Linked DNA regions of Homo sapiens: regions 1 and 3 are each linked to region 2. Evidence: promoter capture Hi-C in human tissues and cell types (Jung and others, 2019). All regions are on one chromosome and are shown on one strand. Each heading gives the region's core, a stretch centred on a gene start or on the middle of the fragment in contact. The rest is flanking DNA. Distances are from core to core; before and after follow the strand shown. Region 1 has its middle 51 kb from the start of CYP2A7. Region 2 holds the start of CYP2A13 (cytochrome P450 family 2 subfamily A member 13). Region 3 has its middle 37 kb from the start of CYP2B6.

Region 1 (3,533 bases), core at 505-3,004, 160 kb after region 2:
AAAAGAGTATATATAGGGCTCAGCATTATTTGGGGTTTCAGGCATCCACTGGGGGTCTCAGAACATATCTCCGGTGGATAAGGTGGGATTACTGTGCAGCCACTTGGGGAACCGCTGGGCAGTATTTCCTGAAGCTGAACAAATGGATAACTGGGAAACCATCCACTTCACTCTCAGGTACATGCCCAGCACAAATGTGTATGTGTGTTCACCAAAAAATGAACAAATATTCACAGAAGCTTTCTTTATAAAATACTCATCAACACAGATATAGAGAAACAGTGAGAGTTCACACAATAGAATAGTATACAGCAACGAAAAAGAACAAACTACAGCTACATGCAATAACGTGGCTGAAACTCACAGGCATAATGTTGAGTGGAAGCAACTAGACACAAGAGAGTCCATGCATCATAATTTTATGTGTATGAAGTTCAAACACAGGGCCGGGCATGGTGACTCACACCTGTAATCCCAGCACTTTGGGAGGCTGAGACGGGCTGATCACGAGGTCAGGAGTTTGAGTCCAGCCTGACCAACATGGTGAAACCCCGTCTCTACTAAAAATACAAAAATTAGTCTGGCGTGGTGGCCCTCACCTGTAGTCCCAGCTACTCGGGAGGCTGAGACAAGAGAATTCCTTGAGCGTGGGGAAGTGGAGGTTGCAGTGAGCCGAGATCACGCTGCTGCACTCCAGCCTGGGTGACAGAGCAAGACTCCATCTCACAAAAAAGAAAAAAAAGTTCAAACACAGACAAAATCAACCCATGATCAAGATGGTAGGTGGATAGTGACTAGAAAAGGACGGGGTGTGGTGTTTTGGGGGACTCTTGCTACTTGGCCTGCATGTCAATTACATGAGTATGTTCAGTTTGTGAAAATTCATTGAGCTGTGCACTTTTTATAGTGATGTTCAATTTCAATAAAAACTTGACATAAAAATTAGAAAAATGTTTAAGTTTACTTACAAATGCCCTGCATTGATCTCTGCAAAGCCCCTTCACTGGTCTCCTGCCTTACATTCTTAGACCCCTTAACAACTGTTTCACTGCCCCACAAGCCAGGGTAACCCCACTAAAATGTAAAATAATTAATATCCCTGTGCTCACCAAGGCCTCCAATACTCCAACTTTGCTGAGAATAAGATCTGAAGTCTCCACCTGTGGTTGACATGGTCCTACATGATGTGGCCCCATCACCTCTCTGACTTCTCCTCCCACTGATTCCTCCATGTTGTTCCCTGAGATTTTTCCTGCTTCAGGATTCTTGCAACCACCCTGCCTCCTTCTGGCACCTTCCACCTGAATCTTTCCTGGTCCCTGCTAAGAAACAAAGCAAGGCGGAGTCTTTCCCTAACCACTCAATCTAATGTAGTTCTCCATCACTTTCTGAAATATCCTCCTGCTTTAGTTTAATCGTAGCTCTTGTCCACCTAACATTTCCTTATCTGTTTATTTTTTGCTTATCTGTCTCCACCAATGGAATGTCCATAAGCACAGTGTTACCTCGTATGTCTTGTCCAAGATGCCACATCATCAATTCATAGAATATTTCCTGGTACATAGAAAGTGCCCAGTGAATTGTTATTGGATTCATGAATAAATGAATGAGTGGATCAAGGTAGTTGCCATTTAATGAGCACTTATTATATACTAGCTGCATGCAATATCCCATTTAATTCTCACAACCACCTTAGGGGCACACATTCTCATTGTCATGGTCTTAATTGACAGAAGAGAAAACTGTGACTCAACGCATAAGAATTGAATCTGAGACACGAGCCCGCATCCCTCTGGCTCCAAAAGGAATCTGGAAGCTTATTGGGAAATGGAGAAGCAACAGCGCCACCTTCCTCAGCCTTGACACACACTTGCTCATGCCCTCCCTCTTTCCCCTACCCCCAAGAGATGCAATCATAATAGACGGTCATGAATACCTAGAGGACCCTTGGAAGGTTTATGAAAGAGTTTTAGGGAGTCTGTGAAGCCTCACAACTTTATGCAAACATGTATGTGCCTATTTGGAAAAGAGGGGGCCACAGCTTTAATCAAACTCTCAGAGGATTTCATAATCCACAAAATGTTAAGCAGCTTTAGTCTAGGAGGGCTTTGGAGACAGACCTCCTGCTGGAGCTCAGCTTCTCCTTTTCCTAGTTGTGTGCCACTGGACAAGTGCTTTCCCCAGGCTGAGCATCTCCATCCCTACTGTTTTTTTGTTATTGCTGTTGTTGTGTTGTTGTTGTTTTTTGAGACAGAATTTCACTCTTGTTGACCAGGATGGAGTGCAATGGTGCAATCTCGGCTCAGGGCAACTTCCGCTTCCTGTGTTCAAGCAATTCTCCTGCCTCAGCCTCCTGAGTGGCTGGGATTACAGACATGTGCCACCACACCAGCTAGTTTTGTGTTTTTTTAGTACAGATAGGGTTTCTCCATGTTAGTTAGGCTGGTCTCGAACTCCTGACCTCAGTTGATCTGCCTGCCTCAGCCTCCTAAAGTGCTGAGATTACAGGCATGAGTCACCATGCCCGGCCACCATCCCTACTTCTAAGATGAGGGTAGCACCTCACCTTGTCCACAGGTAGTTGTAAATGACACCTAGAAAATCCCCATGACAACACAGGTAATTCCCAGACACATTACTCTAGTGGGAAAACTAAGTCCATTGATTCACATGATAGCATGATATTCTCGTGACACATGGAAAATGATGAAAAGAAAACAATAGGCACTTGAGACCTTCACCTATGTGATGGGACTCTATTTGGTGGGGAGGGATCCTTAGATCTGCGACCCCCTACTGGGGGCCTGGTAGCACTTTGCAGGCCCCGGCCGACTGTCAGTTCTGCTGAGTCAGGCTTGGAGCTTTCACTCACTGACTCCTTCATTTGTTTCTATACACATATTTGCTAAACGCCTATTGTGTACCAGGCACTATGTTCAGCTCTGTGGTGAGTCCTCGCAGGCCTTCCTTGTCTGGAAGTGTGAGGGAGAGATCAGCCACAGGATCACAAGTAAATGCAGCATTGTCAAGGACATAGGCTCAGTAAGGAGGGGCAGCTGGTGTATGAGAGCCTATGGTGGGGACCTGGGGGTCAGGAAGTCTTCTCAAGGGAGCTACTGCTTGCCTGGATGGCTAAGGAACCCCAATAATGAGGAACGGACACTGTTCTTGCACTGACATTAACCAAGATGACCCACCCACATCCTCAAACAACAACAACAACAACAAAACAAACTATTTACCCCAAGCCCTCCCTGTGAGAAAATGGAAATCTTTGCTGCAACGAAGAAGGGGAGAGGGTCAAACATGTCTATTCAAAACTTATCCCAATGCTTTGGGATGTTGAAGCAGGAGGATTGCTTGAGGCCAGGAGTTCAAGACCAGCCAAGGCAATATAGTGAGACCCTCCCCCAACACGTCTCTACAAAAATAAAAAAAAATAGTGGGGCATGGTCGTTCACACCTGTAGTCCCAGCTACTCTGGAGGCTAAGGCGGGAGAATCTCCTGAGCCCAGGAGTTCAAGGTTGCAGTG
Region 2 (3,425 bases), core at 419-2,918:
CAAAACCCCTTAGGGTGGCGATGGAGAAGCGCCGGAGCTGCTTGGCGCGCTCCCCGTTGCTGAACGCCACGCCTGGGGAGGTGAACGCGGGGGTGGAGAGAGGTCAGGGGGCGGCGGGAGCAGGAGCGGACCAGCTCCAAGGGGCTCCCCAAGGGTGGAGCAGAGAGGGAGTGGGGTGGGAGAGAGATGGATTCAGCGCGAGTGCCCAGGAGAGCTGCAAACTCAGTCAGAGAAACACGAGAGCACGAGAGAGAGAGAGAGAGAGAGAGAGAGAGAGAGAGAGAGAGAGAGAGAGAGAGAGAGAGAGAGAGAGACCGGGTAGAAAGAATAAGAGAATCAGAAGAGAAGCAGAAAGGCCAGACAGACAGATGCAGAGAAACAGAGGGATACGGGGATACTCCATGGAGGAAGGGAAGGAAGTGGGGAGAGAAAGAGAGAGATGGAGGGAGGGGAAGTGAGATATGGGGAGATCTGGGAGGAGGAAATAAAAATGGTGAAAGATTCTTAAGCTGAACTGGAGAAGAGAGAAAAATATGGAGACAGAAACAGAGAGGATCGGGAAGGAGGACAGACAATTACCAGGAGTTGGAGGCTGGAGATGTGGAAGTAGGAATACCCTGAAATCCTAAGACAGAGGAAGAAGTGGGAGAGGGAAGCAGAGAGAGGAGAAACACGGAGAAGCACAGAAGCCGAGAGCGACAAAAAGACAAATGAAGACAGAGGACCAGGGCTGGAAAACAGAAACCCAGGATGTCCTCAGAGATGGAGAGAGAGGGGAAAGAGGAGACTCCAGTGAGAGAGAAGGAGGAGACGGGGCAGAGAGAGGCAGGGAGGAATCACGACAGGGACGCTGGAGACAGGTGAGGGACGCACAGGGAGAGGCCACGATGAAGGGAGATGGGGAGAGAAGACCAGACAGGGGGCTCTGCCATAGCCTCCAGTGGGCAGGAGAGTCAGGGAGAAGGCTGGGGACACGGAGACCATTGCATCCACCTGGCCACCTTCCCCCTCTTGGGCACCCCCTCACCATAGCCTTTGAAGAGCCAGTCGAAGGTGGCCTGCTCGCCTCGCCCGCTGAACTCCTCAGCCTGGTCCACCAGAGCCTCCTTGACGGCATCATGTCCGCACAGCACCACGACCCGCCGGGGCCCCAAGTGAATGGTGAACACAGGGCCATAGCGCTCACTGATCTGTTGGAGGCAGGTGGGAGTGGTTAGAGGGAGCAGCCCCCACTCTGAATGGGCCCAGCACTGAGATATCATGTACTGGGATGCTTCGCCCCCAGGTTCTCACAGTCAGGGAGCTGGACATCCCAAGATCCTGTCTTTCCTGCTAGGACCCTGATGCTGAAACTCCAAGACTCCCTTTCCTAAGACTCTGGTCCACACTGGTCAATCCCCTGCCACAAAGCCCCAGCCAACTGGGCAGCCCCCACCCCGTGCCACCCATCTCCCTGCCTTAGGACACCTTCATGAGGGAGTTGTACATCTGCTCTGTGTTCAGCTGCAGGTAGTTTCCAATGAAGGGCAATGGGGTGGGTCCCGGAGGCAGCTTCCCCCTGCTCTTCCTCTGCCGCCAGACTGACATCAAGACCATCACAGTCAGGCAGGCCAGCAAGGTCACCAGAAGCAGCCCTGAGGCCAGCATGGTGGCAGTGGGATGATAGATGGTGATGGCTGGGGTGGTTTGCCTTTATACTGCCTGAAAAAGAGGGATGGACTTTGGTTGATTATATAATCACCTCATTTCACCTCCCAACTACACCCCAACCCTGAATCCCACACAGCTTAGGACACAGCCAGCAAGGGAGGAGGAGAGGGACCCCAGGGAAGCTGAACAGGGAGGGGAACTCCAGACTAAATCTGGTACTTCAGGAGGGTTGCTGCAGGGCTGTGGATTTAGGAGCGGGCAACAGATAAACTGTGGAACTGAGGAGTTTGGAATATTTGCACAGGGGAGCACCTGGACTTTGGATTTGGGATCTGGGAGTGAGAATGCACCCCAAAGTTGTGGATTTGGGCATTCCACGGGAGAGGAATCCAAAGGTCTGGGTTTTACTAGGGTGAGATGGAAGTGTGGCTGTGCATCTGGGGGTCTTCTGTTGTGGAGGATGCAGGGTTAAGGGTCTCAGGACGGGGGATTCCAGGCATATGGACTTGAAAGTCTTGGGGCTAGGAAGACCCAGGGCTGTGGGTGTGGAGTTTCTGGGAGGTGGAGTGTGTAGCAAGCCCAGCAGGTGCTCCCAGAAAGCCCAGCAGCCCAGCACTGGGCCCAGGGACTGACTTGATTTTGCTTTGACCCAGAGCTGTCTCTTGATGCCCAGAATCCTCATTGGAACCTCAGAGTGAGGCCAGGATGGGTGCCATAGAACCTCCGCTGCCCATCTCTGGCTGGGAAAGGGGCAGAAGACGAGAGCCATATTTCAGAGGAACTTTCCCCACACGTGGAGAAGAGTACCTCATGTTACCAGTTGGCAGAGGGGATTGGCTAGGTCTGGAGAAATAGTAATAACAACCCTCAAATGCTGGAAAAATCTCAAGTGTCCCAAGGGTTGTAATTTACGAAGAACTCCACTGGTTTCCAACCCAGATTCTTAGGGAAACCCACTAGATTGATTGTATCATCCCTATTAATACTATGATTGTTATTTATGTTTCTCATTTTATATAAAGATCTACAGAGGACAGAAAACAGACAGTGGGCAGGGGACATGTGTGAGTGGCCCTGAACTCCCATCTCTCTTGCTCTGCGTCTTTAGTTCCACTTTCTGGATTTGGTTTTCCTGCCAGTGGAAAGGGAGTGTTTGGGAAGAGAAGACCACGTTTGAGGGTGAGTTAAGTCTCCTTTAAGGGCGATTCCTGCTTTGTCAGGGGCTACTACTATTAGTAGGCAGAGGGAACAATCGCAGAAGAGATTGGGGTAAACTCCAGTATTAGGCACAGAGGCAGATCCTGGGGTGGGTGTGAGTGGAGAAGGGATGAGTAGCCCTCCTGTCCTTCCCTCAAGGAAATTCTTCCTTAGTAAACAGGACAGTTACCCTTTGGTGAGCATGGTCATATATGGGAAGATTAAGTCTAGGTGTGTATGATCTGGTTGAATCTTTGTAACAGTGAGGTTGGTTCATCATGATCATCCTCATTTTGAAGATGAGCAGATCTAGACTCCATAAATCCTCTTGAGTGAGGTCACACAGGGAGTAAGTGAGGGAGCTGGGATGTGAACTTTCTCCTCGCCCCCCTTCATTGACTGGCCTAGATCACCCTGGGAGTCAAGTGCAGGCCAGGCTTAGCAGGAGGTGAGTGCTGGGACTGGCATCAGCAGTGGACACACTGATGACATTGGCGGGTTCTGATATCAGCATCAGGTGTGTCCAGGGAGGGAAAGGCATCGTGTTGGCTTTGGGACTGCCCCCAGGTGTATGCGAG
Region 3 (3,312 bases), core at 134-2,633, 130 kb after region 2:
TCTGCCTTTCCCTTAATAGGTCTAATTTCTGCCTGACATTCTGTATCAGCATTTTCATAAGCAAGCAGCTGAACTATCACTTTCCTGACATGAGAATCCAAAATAGCCTTTTGAGCCGTGTCTTGCAAATGGGTGATAAAATCTGGATAAGGCTCCTTTGGACCCTGTTGAACTGAGTTAAAAGAAGTATAAGTAGTACCAGGGTCGTGAATTTTTTCCCAGGCTCTGAGGCATATAGTTCTGAGCTGATCAACAGTCTCATCACCCATTACCATCTGTCAATTTAGAGTACCCCATGCCTGTCTGATTCCAAGCAAGTGATCAGATGTGATATTAACAGGAGGTTGGGCTTGAGCATTTCTGCATGCCTGATTTGTTGTTGCTTGATCTGTCCGCCAGGTTTTAAATTGGAGAAACTCAGTGGGGGACAGGGTAGAGTGGGCTAATGCCTCCCAATCCATAGGTATTAAATGCCTGTTATAAGCCACAGATTGTAACAAGGAATGAACCTAAGGAGAATTTGGCCCATATTGTCCAATTGCTTGCTTTAAGTCTTTTAATATTTTAAAAGGAAATGGCTCCCAGCATGCTTCAGCATGTTGTCTGGGCTCCTCAGCTGGAGAAATAATTACCAGAAACTGCCAAGCATCCAAATCCCCCACATCTCATGCCTGGTAAATAGATGCCTGGATTGTCCCTGCACCGTAATTTGTATTTGGACCTGCTCACAGCATTCCTCTACCATAATTAAAAGGTGGACAAGCCTGGATCATTCCCTCACCATAATTGGCTGTTGGGTGAGCCTGAAGCTTCCCTTCAACATAGTTAATTGTGGGGCATGCAACAATGGGAGCAGCAAGTCATGTCTCAGGCTCCCATTCCAAAAATTCATAAGGCTGAGGCGGGGGTGGCCATTCTGGACCTTCCCCTAAAGGCGCAGTGGGTGGCACTGTTTCTGCAGTAGGTGGAAATGTTTCTTCTATAAGTTTTTGGAGGTTAGCATATATCCCTTTCTCCCCCTTTTTAAAACTAAACTGTGATGGTTCACTTTGCAGATCATCAAACTCCTGATTATTAAACTTTTCTATGTCATCCTGAAACTTCTCATCCTCCTCAGTGTGGAAAGGCTCCAGTGGTATTTTGATTGCTGACCACACAGACCAAGCAGACAAGGGAATATTGTAGCCCTCTTGTTGTGCTCATTTTAAGTCTGCTCCGAACTTGTCGCAGTCTTTTACATTCATGGTTCCATATTCCGGGAACCAAGGGGAATACTTTTCTATGAGCTGGAACAAAGATGTGAGATTTTGGGTACTCACAATTGCCCCTCTGTGGCACAATAACTGCCACACCAAGCTTAAGTAATTAGCAAATTTACTCTCAGCCTGACCCGTTTTCCCGAGGTTACCGTGGAATTCTCCAAGCACACTACTTATCCACAGAGCTTGAAGTGAAAACATATTCAGGCACCCTTTTTCTGTCATCTTCCACTTTCCATGCTCTAGCATTCCTTCACCAGATTATTTGTAGAGATAACGGGGAGTCCCACGTTGGGCGCCAGATGTTGGGGAAACCAGCCCCACACCACCCTGCAGGTACCGCGAGTCCAACGGAGACTAAAGAGTTAGAAAGAAACAGAGTGAGAATTTAAAAGGTGGGTCCGGGGGACCAGAGTGTCAGAGGCTTGCTCATGGCCCAGAGCTCTTTGGCTCTGCCTAATTTATTGGCTTACAAGCTCTTTGTTCTTAGGGCAGATGAGAAGGCAAGGAAGGGATGAGAAAAAGGATTAATCAATGAAGGAGAACTCGTGAGTTATTCAATAAGATGTAGAGCAGTGGCAGTTTCTGTGAATTTCCTTGAGCAAAGGCGTGTGTCTAAACTACTTAAAATCTTATCAGGACTGAAATGGGTGGGAGTGGGTTTCAGAAGAAGCCAAGATGTTTGATTGTACTTCACTGCTTTAAGGAAGTGTTATCTCCCTGAGCAACCTGTGGAATGCCGCTGAGCAGGTATGCTCTGGGAGCATAAAGACATAAAGACAATAAGGAGACTTTTCTCCTCAGAGGCCGCCCATGGCTCCCCATGGGTGTCTCACATAGGGGAGACCAACTCATCTGGTACTCCAGAAACTCTCTTTCCCACACCAGCTTGGCCTGGGAAGCCTTGTGAGCAGCCGGCACGTCATTATTTTTCTGATACCACTTCTGTACCAGGCCCTGACAGACCTGATCTCTTTTAATCCCAACAAGAAGACTCAATGATAATTGTTACAGTGCATTCTTACAGTGCACAATGATATCCCAGACACTTTTTGGAAGTGCAAAAAGCTCTTTGCACATACCTCACTGAATCTTCAAACAGCCCCACATTAGAGGTGCTATGATGATCTCTGCTTACAGAGGCAGAAATAAGGCACACAGAGGGCTTAAGTCACTTCTCAAGGGCACCAGCAAGGAGCTGGGATTCAACATCCAGACAATCTGGCTCCAATCAGTGATATTATCTCCTTCATTCCTGACAGACGGGAAGCTGAGAACTCTAAAGATGTGGCCCCCAGATTTGGAGAAGTGGGAGTTCTTATATAGATGTCAAAATATCACCCAAAGGAGCCAATGAACACCCTGAAATAGTCATGCAGCTGGGTGGCATTGTACCCACCTAGAAAAACTCCATGCAAGTATTTTGGATCCCTTGAAGGCTCAGCTCTTATTTACTCCACAAATATTTATTGTGAACCCTACTATATGTCAGGCACTTGTTCTGGAGGGTGGGGGAACCCACAGGGACCAAAGCAAACCATGACAACAGTAATAATTAAGTAAATGAGAACCTGCCAGGTGCAATGGCTCACACCTGTAATCTCAGTGCTTTGGGACGTCAAGATGGGGAGATCATTTCAGACCAAGAGTACAAGACCAGCCTGGGCAAAATAGCAAGACTACATCCTTTCAAAATATTTAAAAGTTAGCCAGAGGTGGTATCACAAACTTAGTCCTCACTACTCAGGAGGCTGAGATGGGAGGATTGCTTGAATCCAGGAGTTGGAGGCCGCAATGAGCCATGATCACACCACTGCACTCCAGTCTGGGTGATATGGTTTTGCTGTGTCCCCATCCAAATCTCATCTTGAATTGTAGCTGCCATAATCCCTACATGTTGTGGGAGGGACCCGGTGGGAGATCATTGAATCATAGGGGTGGTTTCCCCCATACTGTCCTCATACTAGTCAATAAGTCTCATGTGATCTGTTGGTTTTATAATGGAAAACCCCTTTCACTTGGTTCTCATTCTCTCTCTTGCCAGCGCCATGTA

The links. The method cuts DNA at HindIII sites, captures the fragments that hold promoters and counts their contacts. A contact is called where the count stands out against the background at its distance.
Region 1: a contact is called between a fragment that was not itself captured here and the fragment with the promoter of CYP2A13 in region 2, in 2 of the 25 tissues and cell types used here (H1 embryonic stem cells and dorsolateral prefrontal cortex).
Region 3: a fragment that was not itself captured here is called in contact with the fragment with the promoter of CYP2A13 in region 2 in 2 of the 25 tissues and cell types used here (H1 embryonic stem cells and pancreas).

Annotation. Positions count from the first base shown.
Region 1 is chr19:40,931,528-40,935,060 of GRCh38, reverse strand. It overlaps the pseudogene CYP2B7P. Among named protein-coding and RNA genes, the nearest start is that of CYP2A7, 51 kb to the right of the region's middle. The HindIII fragment of the contact is 3,944 bases long and covers 1-3,533 here.
Region 2 is chr19:41,086,694-41,090,118 of GRCh38, reverse strand. It overlaps CYP2A13 (cytochrome P450 family 2 subfamily A member 13), which reads right to left and starts at 1,668. Exons shown (of 9, transcript NM_000766.5): 1 at 1,468-1,668; 2 at 1,028-1,190; 3 at 1-72. The coding sequence starts at 1,647. The HindIII fragment of the contact is 9,937 bases long and covers 1-3,425 here.
Region 3 is chr19:40,953,004-40,956,315 of GRCh38, reverse strand. No RefSeq gene overlaps it. Among named protein-coding and RNA genes, the nearest start is that of CYP2B6, 37 kb to the left of the region's middle. The HindIII fragment of the contact is 3,838 bases long and covers 1-3,302 here.